2 separate regions of the Homo sapiens genome follow, and region 1 is linked to region 2. Evidence: promoter capture Hi-C in 16 types of primary human blood cells and fetal thymus (Javierre and others, 2016). All regions are on one chromosome and are shown on one strand. The core of a region is centred on a gene start or on the middle of the fragment in contact, and the rest is flanking DNA. Distances in the headings are between cores, read along the strand shown.

Region 1 (5,871 bases), core at 2,652-5,151, 240 kb after region 2:
CAGACTGCAATCCTAACTAAGCTAGTCTTGAAGATTTAGCTTCCCAGGCTGGCCACGGTACTGGCCTGGGCAGGGCCATAGAACTGCTCAGTGGCTATTTCTGGCCACCTGCACACATCTAAAGTTACTGTGCCTCTCTGAACCTCCCAGGTGTCTCCTGCACCTCCTGAGGCCTGAGCTACAGCCCTGGAGAGGCCTGAACCCCCACCTCAGCTGCTTGACCTGAGGGAAAACGAGGTGGCCTGGGTCATCTAGGGACTTGACAGCCAGAAGAAGAGCGGAGTGCATGTGAGTACCAGGGAGGTGTGGACACACCCAGCTGAGCACTGGCTTGACTGTTACTCTGAACCTCACCCAAGATCACATGGATAGTCAATGAAGGATAATCAGGCCTCCTGGCTGGATTCACCAAGCACCTACACAGGTGCTCAGAGGCCCTTTCTCTGTACTCTAGAAAAGCAAGTCCCTTCCTTTTGTGGGCTTAATTTCCTCCTGTATAAAATGAGGAGCTGAGGCCAGGTGTGGTGGCTCATGCCTGTAATCCCAGCACTTTGGGAGGCCATGGCGGGAGGATTGCTTGAGCCCAGGAATTTGAGACCAGCCTGGGAAACATAGTGAGACCCTGTCTCTATAAAAATAAAAAAAAATAGCTGGGTGTGGTGGCATGCAACTGTAGTCCCAGCTACTTGGAAGGCTAAGGTGGGAGGATCACTTGGGCCCAGGAGGTCAAGGCTTCAGTGAGCTGTGATCACCCCATCACTGCACTCCAGCCTGGACAGGAGAGTGAGACCTGTCTCAAAAAAAATAAAAATAAAAAGGAACTGGACTAGGGATCTTCCAAGTCCCTTCTGGCTCTGAACTTCTAGGACTTTTAGGAGAGGGTCATGACTTATGGGGAGGTAAGGGTGGGGAGGCCTGAGTAAGAATGGGAGGGGGAGGAATAAACTGAAACTAAAGGTGACAGGTGGCTCCTTGGCAAAGGGATTACCCAAGTCCCTTCCATTAGCGTGACCTAATGATTCCGTGAGTTAATCCATAAATGCTGTGCGCAGCCTGGCACATAGTAAGCTCTCAATCATTTTTTAGCAGCGATTATTATTATGATTATCAGCAGCCTAGATTTATAAACACTCTGCTTACTTAATCGCCGGTACCCACAAATCTTCAAATGACCACATCATTGAATCAAGAATTACTGAGTCATTGAACCTGAACGCTGCTGGACCATCAAAAGTGAGTCTCTCCAAGTCACAGCATGGACCCATCGCTGAGTCGGCACAAAGTGCCCTGCCGAGCCATGCCTCTATCCATGTTGCCCTTGCTGCTTTTGGTGTCCTTCTAGATCTTTCCACAAGGCAAATTCCGCTTGAAGGTCCAATCCATGGATGCACTGTGTGGACATGACTTCATGTGACTCTCCCAACTCCATAAATAGTTACTGCCATATGGTACTAATAAGGAAACTGAGGTCCTCAGAAGTCACACAGCCTGGTGTTTCATGCTAAGGCCCATGGGTGGCTGGTGTTTCACTCTAAGGTCCATGGGTGGCTTCCAGCTTCCCGAATGAGCTGAGCTAACTTTTCCCTCCGTGCTGCCCGGTTATTTTACCTTCATGTGTAGCACACTCCACAGCACCCTGTAATTTCTCTGGGTGCCTGTTTCCCCAGCCCCCTAGACTAGGAGCGCCATACAGGCTGACAAGGGTCATGTCTGACCTTCCTCATGTTCCCCACAAGTGCCAGGTTCATCAGGGGTGCCAAACAGGTGCTTTGAATGGGATCATCCGTAGAAGGGTCTTGACTACTGTCCAGGTAGCATGGGGATGGACCTTGTGAGGGAAACGACATCCTGGGGCTTGAGTCTCCATCTTCCTTTGGGTACCCAGCCCACCCCGAAACTGGAGGTGGTCTGCATTCCCCACTCTTGCAGTGGCCCTGCTGGAATCATGTGCTGGCCCACCTTTTCCTGCCTTAGCATGGTCTACCATGATGGTTTCCATGGTGGGTGCTGAACCCACTGGAGAGCAGGTAAAAGCTCAGGCCCCCTTCCCAGAAAAGAATTCTAAACCCGGCCACGTAAGATTTTTTTCACACCCATAAAGTTTTGCATATAATATCAACGGATTTTCTTTTCTTGAGACAGGTTCTCCCTCTGTTGCCCAGGCTGGAGTGCAGTAGCATAATCTTGGCTCACTGTAGCCTCAAATTCCTGGGCTCAATCGATCCTCCTGCCTCAGCCTCTCAAGTAGCTGGGACTACAGGCTCAGGCCACTATGCCTGGCTAATTTATTTTAAAAATTTTTGTAGAGATGGGGGTCTCACTATGTTGCCCAGGCTGGTCTTGAACTCTTAGCCTCAAGCAATCCTCCCACCTTTGCCTGCCAAAGTGCTGAGGTTACAGGTGTGAGCTACCACACCTGGCCCAATATCAATGGATTTTAAAGTTCATCAGTGGGGCCTCTAAATTGCACCCCAAATTAGAGAAAAGCCCAGGAAGCTTGGGAAGCAACTAGTATAAATAACAGAGATAGGGCACTGAGCTCTCTGGGTGGACATAGGGGTCACAGTGAACTTCAGAGGGGAGCCCAAACCATCCCTCCCTAAACCTTCTTGGGCCATCCTCACATCTCCCCCACCTCTTCCTTGGCCCACCTTCTCTGAGAAAGCCTCTGCTCTCCCCAGTATGGCTATACCACAGAGGTTTGTCTAATGTGTGAGTTGTTTTGTATTCGCTTCATTAGAAAGCCTTTTAAAATGCATTTTCAGGTCTGTGTTCAGTACAGTGTGTATCCAAATAAAAATTCTCTGGCAAATCACCTTAAGAAGTTTGGCTGTTTTTATTCCTTCCCAGCCAGCATTGTCAGTACAAACCAAGGGAGAATGTCATAAACCATAAAGCAAATTTGGGGCATCCGAGGGCCCTGACCTGCCTGATTATCTCCAACACTACATCTAACTGGTGGGGACCTGTGGCTATCACCTGTGCAGCTAGACCAGAAGATAGACTGTGAGATATCAGTAACCCCTTCCCACACCCAGACCCAGGTTGACCTTGACCACAGTCATAAAACTAGCCCTTCATAGGGGTTCTCGTCTCAGTTTTACAGATGAGGAAAAAGGCTCGGGGAGATGACAGAGACCCAGTGGGTCCCTGGCAAGGCCTGGTCATCTGGCAAGGTGAAGAGGGCCTCAGAAACCACTGCTGGCGTGTGCTTTTCTGCTGGTTAAACATTCCAAGAGAAAAGAAAACACTCAGAGATTGTAGACAGAACCTAGAATTGGCCTGGAGTTTTCTAGATGCTGTAGTTCAATCAGCTCAAAAAGGCCCAGACAGGGCCGGGGACAACTGTGGGGACAGGGCTGGCAGCGGGGCTCCAGACCAAGTGCAGGGCTGCTGACTCTGAGTGATGACATTTGACTCCAGTCCCACAAGAGGGGTGATGTGTCTGACAAAGGGGCAGCAGGAAGACAGCTGAGCCTTCCACTCCAACTCAGGTTTCTGACGTCTCTGTGCAGTTTCTGCGGCAACAATTCCTTTTAGAAGTGAGACAGAGGGCAGCATGGATTTCTCCTCTGAGCACAGGGGCCTGATGTCCTCAGGAGACCACCTGTGTCCTTAGATCAGATGTGGCCCTGCTTCCCATCTGGTTTTCTGTGCCCATCCTACTCTTCCTCTGCCTTGATGGTACCTGCACAGACTCAGGGGCATCTTGAGTCAGATGTGCTTCTCCCTGGGTGGGTGATAATCTCAGTCCTGCCACAGAGGCAAGTAATGAAGTGGCCCAACCCAATGCCTTGCACACAGTGGGCATTCAATAAGCTTTTGCTGAGTTAGAAATTTGGGGGGTGGGGGAAATCATGAGGGAGATGTAGAATCTGGAAGACCAAGTCTGTTGGGGGAAAACACATTGACATCTACTGGCTCCAAAGGAATATGGTTCTGTCCTAGACAGAGGAGGCTTTATTGGGAGGCTAATAAGCTTATGCTTAAGGCCCACTACTGCAGAGTTTACGAGCCCCTTCCTAGGCCCCGTATCTAATTTGACATCCATAATTTTGCATTATTTTTCTTATACAAAGCACCGAAAATTGTATAAGCTTCAGGTTTCACAAAACCTGGATCTGTCCCTGGTCCTGATGCTCTCTAGCTTTGCAAACTCTGAGCCCCTCGACCCACTTGAGGGTAGAATCCCAGAATTAGATGGGCTCTCAAAAGAGTATCTGGTTTGTCCCTCAAGCAGGTATTAAAGATCCATCAACTCCCAGGAACTCTTTTTTTAGGGATCTGCAAGGATAGATATCACCTTGTCTTGGTCCATTTTTTGCTGTTATAACAGAATGCCAGGGGTTGGGTAATTTATAAACAATAGAAGTTTATTTGGTTCACAGTTCCAGAGGCTGGGAAGTCTGAAATTAGGGGACAGCATTTAGTGAGGGCCTTTTGGCTGCATTGTAACAGGTGGAGGATGGCCGGGCACAGTGGCTCATGCCTATAATACCAGCACTTTGGGAGGCTGAGGTGGGTGGATCACTTGAGGTCAGGAGTTCGAGACCAGCCTGGCCAACATGGTGAAACCTCATCTCTACTAATACAAAAAATTAGTCGAGCGTAGCCACGGGCACCTGTAATCCTAGCTACTTGGGAGGCTGAGGCAGGAGAAGTGCTTGAACCTGGGAGGTGGAGGTTGCAGTGAGCCAAGGTTGCGCCACTGCACTCCAGCCTGGGCAACAGAGTGAGACTCCGTCTCACACATACACATACACACACACACACACACACACACACAAAGATAAGAGGAGACATTTCACCCATGATACCAAAACAAACAACTATACACAAAAGAATAATTTAAACTGGATTGTGGTGATGGTTACAGACCTCTGTAAATTTACTAAAAATCATTGAATTAGACACTTAAAATGAGTGAATTTTAGAGTATGTAAAGTGTACCTCCAATAAAACTTTTTTTAAAAAAAAGAATAATCAGAAAAACAGTGCAAAGTACTGAAAATTTGATCCCATAAATAAAATAGTCAGTAGAAGATTTGGAAGATAAGGTCAAGGAAATCTACCTGGAAGAGGAAAAAAAATAAAGGTATGGAAAATCAGAGAGAAAATAGAAAAGCAGAAGATCCATCTAGGAGGCCCAGCAAAAGGAATAGGGAGTAGAAGAAATGGAGGAGAGTCCATTATCAAAGAAATAATACAAAATCACTTCCTAGGACTGAATGACCTGCATCTGCAGAGTTTACGAGCCCATTGTGCACCCAATACAATGAATGAAAAAAGGCCCACGCTAATTTCATAGTGATGTATATGAAGGTAAAATCTTAAAATTTAGGCCAGGCATAGTGGCTTACGCCTGTAATCCTAGCAGTTTGGGAGGCCAAGGCAAGCGGAACACTTGAGGTCAGGAGTTCAAAACCAGCCTGGCCAACATGGTGAAACCCCATCTCTGTTAAAAATACAAAAATTAGCTGGCCGTGGTGGCACATGCCTGTAATCCCAGCTACTTGGGAGGCTGAGGCACAAGAATTGCTTGAACCTGAGAGGCGGAAGTTGCAGTCAGCAGAGATCGCACCACTGGACTCCAGCCTGGGTGACAGAGTGAGACTCCATCTCAAAAAAAAAAAAACACTTAAAATTTTCCACAGAGCAAAATAAAAGATTATAAAAAAAGATCAAGACTAAGAATGGCATTGGACTTCTCCCTGGCAACTTCTTATTCTAGAAGTCAGAAAACAATAAATGTATTCAAATCGCTCTCTTACAGTGTAAAAACAACAAAAGACAAACTTTAATTTTACAAAGCAGGTTTTCCATAAGATCAAAATGTGTGTGTGTGGAGGGATGGTTCCATGTTCATCTCTT
Region 2 (5,981 bases), core at 933-3,432:
ATATTAATAAAAATACACCCAGGGCCGCCTATCTGCGTGTCTGCGGCCTCCAGGGGCCAATCAGAAACAGCCTCAGGCGCGGGGGTTCGGGGCTTCCTCCCGTGTCCTCCAGGAGGCCGACTGGGCGCGGCTCCCCCTACCCCAGGGTCCCCAATCTCCGCAGGGAAGGGGTGAGGCCAGCCCCAAGATCCCCTCTCCGGACACCTGTGGTTTCCATGGCAATCCCCCCTCTGCGCCCAGTCCAGTGGGCTCAGAAAGATGGGTGTGGCCGAAGCACCAGTAACCTTATGCCCCTTCCTCACATTCTCCGGCCAGGCGAAGCAACAGGGCGTAAAGCCGGAGAGGCCCCGCCAGGGCTCCCCACCCATCCCCGGATGGGTAGCCAGCGTCCCTCGCTGGGCAACCTGGTGTGGCGTGGCCCTCAGGACACTTGGGGTGTAGGGAGGGGCGAGATCCCTCTGCCGCCGCCCGCAGCGCGCACGGAGACTCGAATCCCATCCCTTCAGAAGCTTCCCGGCGCCGGCAGACTCCGAGACGAGGCTGCGCGCGGTCACGCCCGTTCCATGCGTGCCGGGGGTCGGGGGGTTGACTCGAGTTCATCGAACCCAGCAAGCCTCGAGATCCAACAATGGGCTCGGAAATGAGGAGCGAAAAAGGAAAGAGAGGCGCATGGGCGTAGGGGGGAGGTTGACTGAACACCCTCAGAATAAAAGCCAGAAACCAGGGCTGGGAGCGCAGATCACGTAACCTCTACAGACAAAGCAAAGAGCCCCCGAAGAAGGTGCTGGGCGAACGCCCCCAGTGCTCACGCCCGCAGCAGCAAAACGCCAAGATTTCAGCGCTGATTGTCCCCCTCCCTTTAATGCCAGGCCCCGCCCTGTCCTATGAAGCCCGGCCACCCGGTTTGGCATGGCACCGTAAAGACGTGACACGCCGAAAAAAGATGGCACCTCGCGTTCCGAGGGGGAAAAAAAGGGGGGCTGGGGGCGGGAGTGGGAGGAGGCACAGCCTATCCTCCCCCTTCCTCGCCCACCAGGGTCCACACCCACTGCCGCAGTGAGGGGCGAGCCCTGCGCGCCAGCCCCGCGCCTCCGGCAGGGAGCGCACACGCCGGGCGCCCTGCGCTCCGAGCGCTGAGAAAGAAATCCGCCCCGAGATGCACCTGCAGCCCCGCGCCCATCCGTGCGTGGCTGCGGCTGTGCGTGCCCGCGAACGGGGACCAGCGGCCGCCGAGTCCGTCCACATCGCCAGGCCAGGTGAACCCTGCCTTTGCGAGCGTGCACAGTGGGATCCGCGCACTGTTCTCAGGCACGGCGCTGCTCGCGTCTCTGTGCCAGGCGTGCGCAGGGGGAAGGGCAACTAAAGTGACAGCGCGTGGACCCCTCCCCATCTCCTCGATTTCTCCCAGCCCCCAAATGTCCCCTACGGGTTTCTGAAGGAGGAAAAGGGGAGGGGGCCGGCCCCCGCCTAAAATCAGGGGCAGTGAAGGCCCTGTCGGAATCACTGCTCGGGAGGTGCAGGGAGGGGCGTGCAGGGAGTCATCTTTTCTAGAACCCGATCCACGTCTTTCTTAGAGCTGATGGCGAACAGCGGCAGGGACAGCGGATTTCAGATTCGGTTTCGGGGGTCGTTATCGGACCCCTCCACACACACACACACACACACACACACACACACACACACACACGCCCATTGCGGCAAAAGGCTGCAGTCGAGAGTGAAGGGCAGCCCCCTCCCCCAAGTCACCGCCGCCGCGCCCCACCCTGCCGGCACAGCCTCCACCTGGGGTCTGCGCGAATCTGGTGGTGAAGACCCTCCAGCACACACACACGCGCGCACTCACGCGTGCGTGCATCCCTTGCTCAGGTCCCTTTCCAGGCCGCCCTGGCCCCAGCCCCCGAGCAGGGGAGGCAGGGAGGGGCCCTGCGGTGGCCCCGACCGATGCCCGGCGCACGAAGCCCCAGTCTGCGGAGAGGGAGGGCGAGGGGCGGCGGCGCAGGGGTGCACAGAGGCGGACGGCGAGGCAGATTTCGGAGCCGCGGCGCTTACCTGATAGTCGACAGAGGCGAGGACGGGAGAGGACAGCGGAGGAGGAGAAGGTGGCTGTGGTGGCGGCGGCAGAAGGTGGGCGGTGGCAGCGGCGCTGCTGTTGGTGCCGGAGCTGGTGGGTGGCGGTGACTGCGAGGGCGCGCGCCGGCGAAGAGGGCGCGTTCCTGAGGCCGGCGGGCGGCGCAGGCGCGAGCAGCGGGAACGCGAGCCTCCCCAGGGGAGGGGGCGGGCAGCGCGGCCTCCGCGGGAGCCTTCTCCTCCGGCCACTAGTGGGCGCGCGCGAGCGCCCTGCCGCTCGGCCGTCCGGCGTCTCCCGGCTCGTTCCTCTCGGCGCTGCCCTTTCGCGGTCCCCCTCCCGCTACGCCTCAGGCCGCGGCGCTGACCGCAGCGCGCACGCGCGTTCCGTGGCGCACGCGCTTTCTCCACCTCCTGTAGTTGGAGTCTTTGTGTCGTTGCGGGGGTGGGTGTCCTCCTTCGGGCCATGCGGGGTCGGGGCAAGGCCAGTGGCTCCGCCGCTGGGTCCGCTGCCCTTTACTTTCAGTCAGCCTGGGGCGGTGTCCTCTCCTACAGAAGTCCTGAGCGGCCTTCCACGTGGCCGGCCCTCGAGTCCGTCCGCCCCGACCCTTCGTAGTCCCGAAACCGCCCCCCTGGCTAAGGTCTCTTTCCCCCAGGCTGCTTCCTTTCTCCTTGCTTTTTTCCCACCTTTTTTGTTACTGACCAAGGTGAATCCTTTCCTTAACAAATCGGCTTAAAGCAAGCTAACTCAGTTACAATACAGTAGAACTGTACTTAAAAAAAAAGAAACGTGAATCTAACCGTTACGTCAGAAAAAAAAATCTTAAATTAGACGAATTTCAAACAGTGCTTAACACATCGCAGAGCATTTGCAGTTATTTGTATCACGTCTTTTGAAACACCTTTATGCTGTAAATAGAGCTTGAAGTCTGAATGTTTAAGGGCCAGCTAGAGATTGTCCCCTGGAAGACGCACCTCAGCCTGAAACTGACCAGTGGTCCTCATTCTGCTGGTCGCCCAGGCCCCAGGCTTCGGCCTTAGCTTGGATTTTTCATTTCCCCAACATCAAGTTTAAGCCCAAGCAGTGGGATGATTTCTATGTAGGGGGGTTTAGGGCAGCCATCTCCTCCTAGGGAGATGGGAAGTTGTCTTGAAGCTCCAATTTGCATAGCTCTTATATTCTTTTTAAAAAATCAACATATGTTATAGATTAATAGAAAAAGCAAGTAAAATGCTTTATTCACACAGTTTCTGGAACTGACCTTTTTCTCCTTTTTTTTTTTAAATGCATATTAACTTTATTTTTAAACAGAGGGGCATATACCCAAAGAAGTAGGAGTGAGAACCACCATGGGGGCTTGCTCAAAGCAATCTGCCCTAGCCTTCTGACTACAGAATGTCTCATGAGCCAATGGCCTGGAGATGGAGCTGCCCCTTGATGGTGTACACCTTAGAAAAGTCAGTGGAATTGACCTTTTTTTGGAGACAAGGTCTTGCTCAGGCTGGAGTGCAGTGGCACAATCGTAGCTCACGGCAAGCTTGAACTCCTGGGGCTCAAGCAATCTTCCCACCTCAGCCTTCTGAGTTGCTGGGACTACAGGTGGGCACCACCACACCTGGCTAACTTTTTTTTTTTTTTTTTTTTAGAGAGGAGGTCTTGCAGTGTTGCCCAGGCTGCTTTCTAACTCCCACCTCAGCCTCCCAAAGCGTTGGGATTACAGGCATGAGCCACTGCACTCAGCCTGGAATTGACTTTTTGTTGTTGTTGTTCTAACTGCCACCATCCTAGTTCAAGACCTCTATCTTGGTTCTGGACATGTAGGGACCTTAGTGATCTCCTTGCTCTCCAGTTTCTCCCTATATCAGCCCACCCTGCAACCCCTAGTTAGATCAGTATTCAGAAGTGATCATTTTATTTATTTATTTTTGGTTTTTTGTGTGTGTTTGTTTTGTTTTTTTGAGATGGAGTCTCGCTCTGTTGCCCAGGCTGGAGTGCAGTGGCACGATCTCGGCTCACTGCAACCTGTTTCCCGGGTTCAAGCGATTTTCCTGTCTCAGCCTCCCAGCTACTGGGATTACAGGCATATGCCACCACTCCCGGCTAATTTTTGTATTTTTAGTAGGACGGGATTTCACCATGTTGGCCAGGCTGGTCTCGATCTCCTGACCTCAGGTGACCCAAGCTCCTCAGCCTCCCAAAGTGCTGGGATTACAGGTGTGAGCCACCACACCTGGCCCAGATCATTTTAATTATGTCACTCTCTTGCTCAAAAATATGTAAAAGCTTCTAACTGCCTCCTAAATTAAGTTCAACCCCTTAGTTTAGCTTTCAAGTGTCCCCCCAATGCCCCAACCCCCCATCATCTGAGCCCTTGTCCTCCCATTTTCTTTCCCACCTACTCTGTAGCCAGCTGAAGTGGCTTGACTAGAACTCTTTTTCCACCTCTGTAATTCTGAGGTTTTCCTTTGCCTACAAAGGTCCTTGTTCTTTCTTCACCCACCAGTAGTCTACCTAACCTTCAAACTCTAGCTCAAATTTTACCAAAGCCTTCCCTAATCACCCCAACTGGAAGGGACATTTCCAGTCTCTAGAAGGAGTTCAGCAAAATTACTCTTCTTCTTTCTGAAAGTGGGAAGGGGGTGCAGTCAATATCCGTCTTGCAGCATTGAAATGTGGTTATTGTCCCCAATAGTGTCCCCTTTTTTTGGTGTGGGGATTATACATACTTGTCCATTACCATTTACATGATGTAGACATTCCAAATAGGCGCTTCAAGAGCATTGCAAGGTTCTACCACTTTTACTCTTCCTTTCCGCCACCAGAATGGCGTGGCTCCAGAGAGCTGTTCCTTCAGCTTAGATCTCAGGAAGGAAAAACTCGAGGAAGTACATGTCACATGAGCAAGAAATAAACATTTGGGGCTGGGCGCAGTGGCTCATGCCTGTAATCCCAGCACTTTGGGAGGCTGAGGTGGGTGGATCGCTTGAGGTCAGGAGTTCAAGGCCAGCCTGAGCAACATGGTGAAATCCCATCTCTACTAAAATCACAAAAATTAGCCAGATGTGGTGGCGCGTGCCTGTGTTCCCAGCTACTCGAGAGACTGAGGCAGGAGAATCGCTTGAACCCAGGAGGCAGAGGCTGCAGTGAGCCGAGATTGCACCATTGCACTCCAGCCTGTTACAGAGCAAGACTTGGTGTCAAAAAAAAAAAAGAAATAAGCATTTGTTGTGCAAGCCACCGAGATTTGAGGAGTTGTTACCACAGCGTCCTGTATCCTGATTGATACAGGAATTAAATGAGGTGTGTGTGTGTGTGTGTATAAAGTTTCTTACACAACATCTGACAAATAGTCATTAAACTATCATACTATTATAAATACTATACTATTATACTATTATAAATACTAGTTATTTCATTATCATCTTTGTAATAATGCTTTTGCTACACATTATTTTATTTCTATACGTAAAATAAACTGTAGCAGTCAAATCAACACTCGTCTACATTCAAATTTCACATTTTTCCCCCTCTAAGATAACAGTATAATTGAGAACTGACAGGGACCTAATGACAGTATGGTCCCCTCACACTGAATGGTCACATTTGCCTAAATTGAAATAACGTATGCTAGAAACAATCTTAAGCAGATCTGTCATTTTAACTATATGTGATGTAGAGTTGAATGTTCATTCCAGATAATTTAGTCAATGTAGGTAACTAATGGCTCACACTAATTCAGGCCAAGAAAATGCATTCCCTCTCTTTCTTCCTGTCCCTTTCTCTTGCTGAAAGAGAAATCTCATGGCCGCATATGTTATACAATCATGCCCACTTATGTAGGATCACAGAAGGCAGAATAGCAGAGAAGAAAGAAAACTGGAGAGTTGGGTCCTGATCCTAGCCATCTTGTATGACC

The links. Contacts are between HindIII fragments. The CHiCAGO score rates a contact against its expected background, and 5 or more counts as called.
Region 1: a contact is called between a fragment that was not itself captured here and the fragment with the promoter of MAPT in region 2, in 2 of 17 cell types (endothelial precursors and megakaryocytes). The highest score is 6.7, in endothelial precursors.

Annotation. Positions count from the first base shown.
Region 1 is chr17:45,652,103-45,657,973 of GRCh38, reverse strand. All of the region lies in intron 3 of LINC02210-CRHR1 (LINC02210-CRHR1 readthrough), which reads right to left. It overlaps LOC105371802 (a long non-coding RNA gene), which reads left to right. Exons shown (of 3, transcript XR_002958155.2): 3 at 151-297. Among named protein-coding and RNA genes, the nearest start is that of LINC02210-CRHR1, 35 kb to the right of the region's middle. The HindIII fragment of the contact is 160 bases long and covers 3,822-3,981 here.
Region 2 is chr17:45,890,755-45,896,735 of GRCh38, reverse strand. MAPT (microtubule associated protein tau) reads right to left here and starts at 2,182. Exons shown (of 13, transcript NM_001377265.1): 1 at 2,050-2,182. MAPT-AS1 (MAPT antisense RNA 1) reads left to right here and starts at 1,223. Exons shown (of 2, transcript NR_024559.1): 1 at 1,223-1,256. MAPT-IT1 (MAPT intronic transcript 1) reads right to left here and starts at 953. Exons shown (of 1, transcript NR_024560.1): 1 at 1-953. RefSeq lists enhancers at 468-1,353, 1,354-2,239. The HindIII fragment of the contact is 3,093 bases long and covers 512-3,604 here.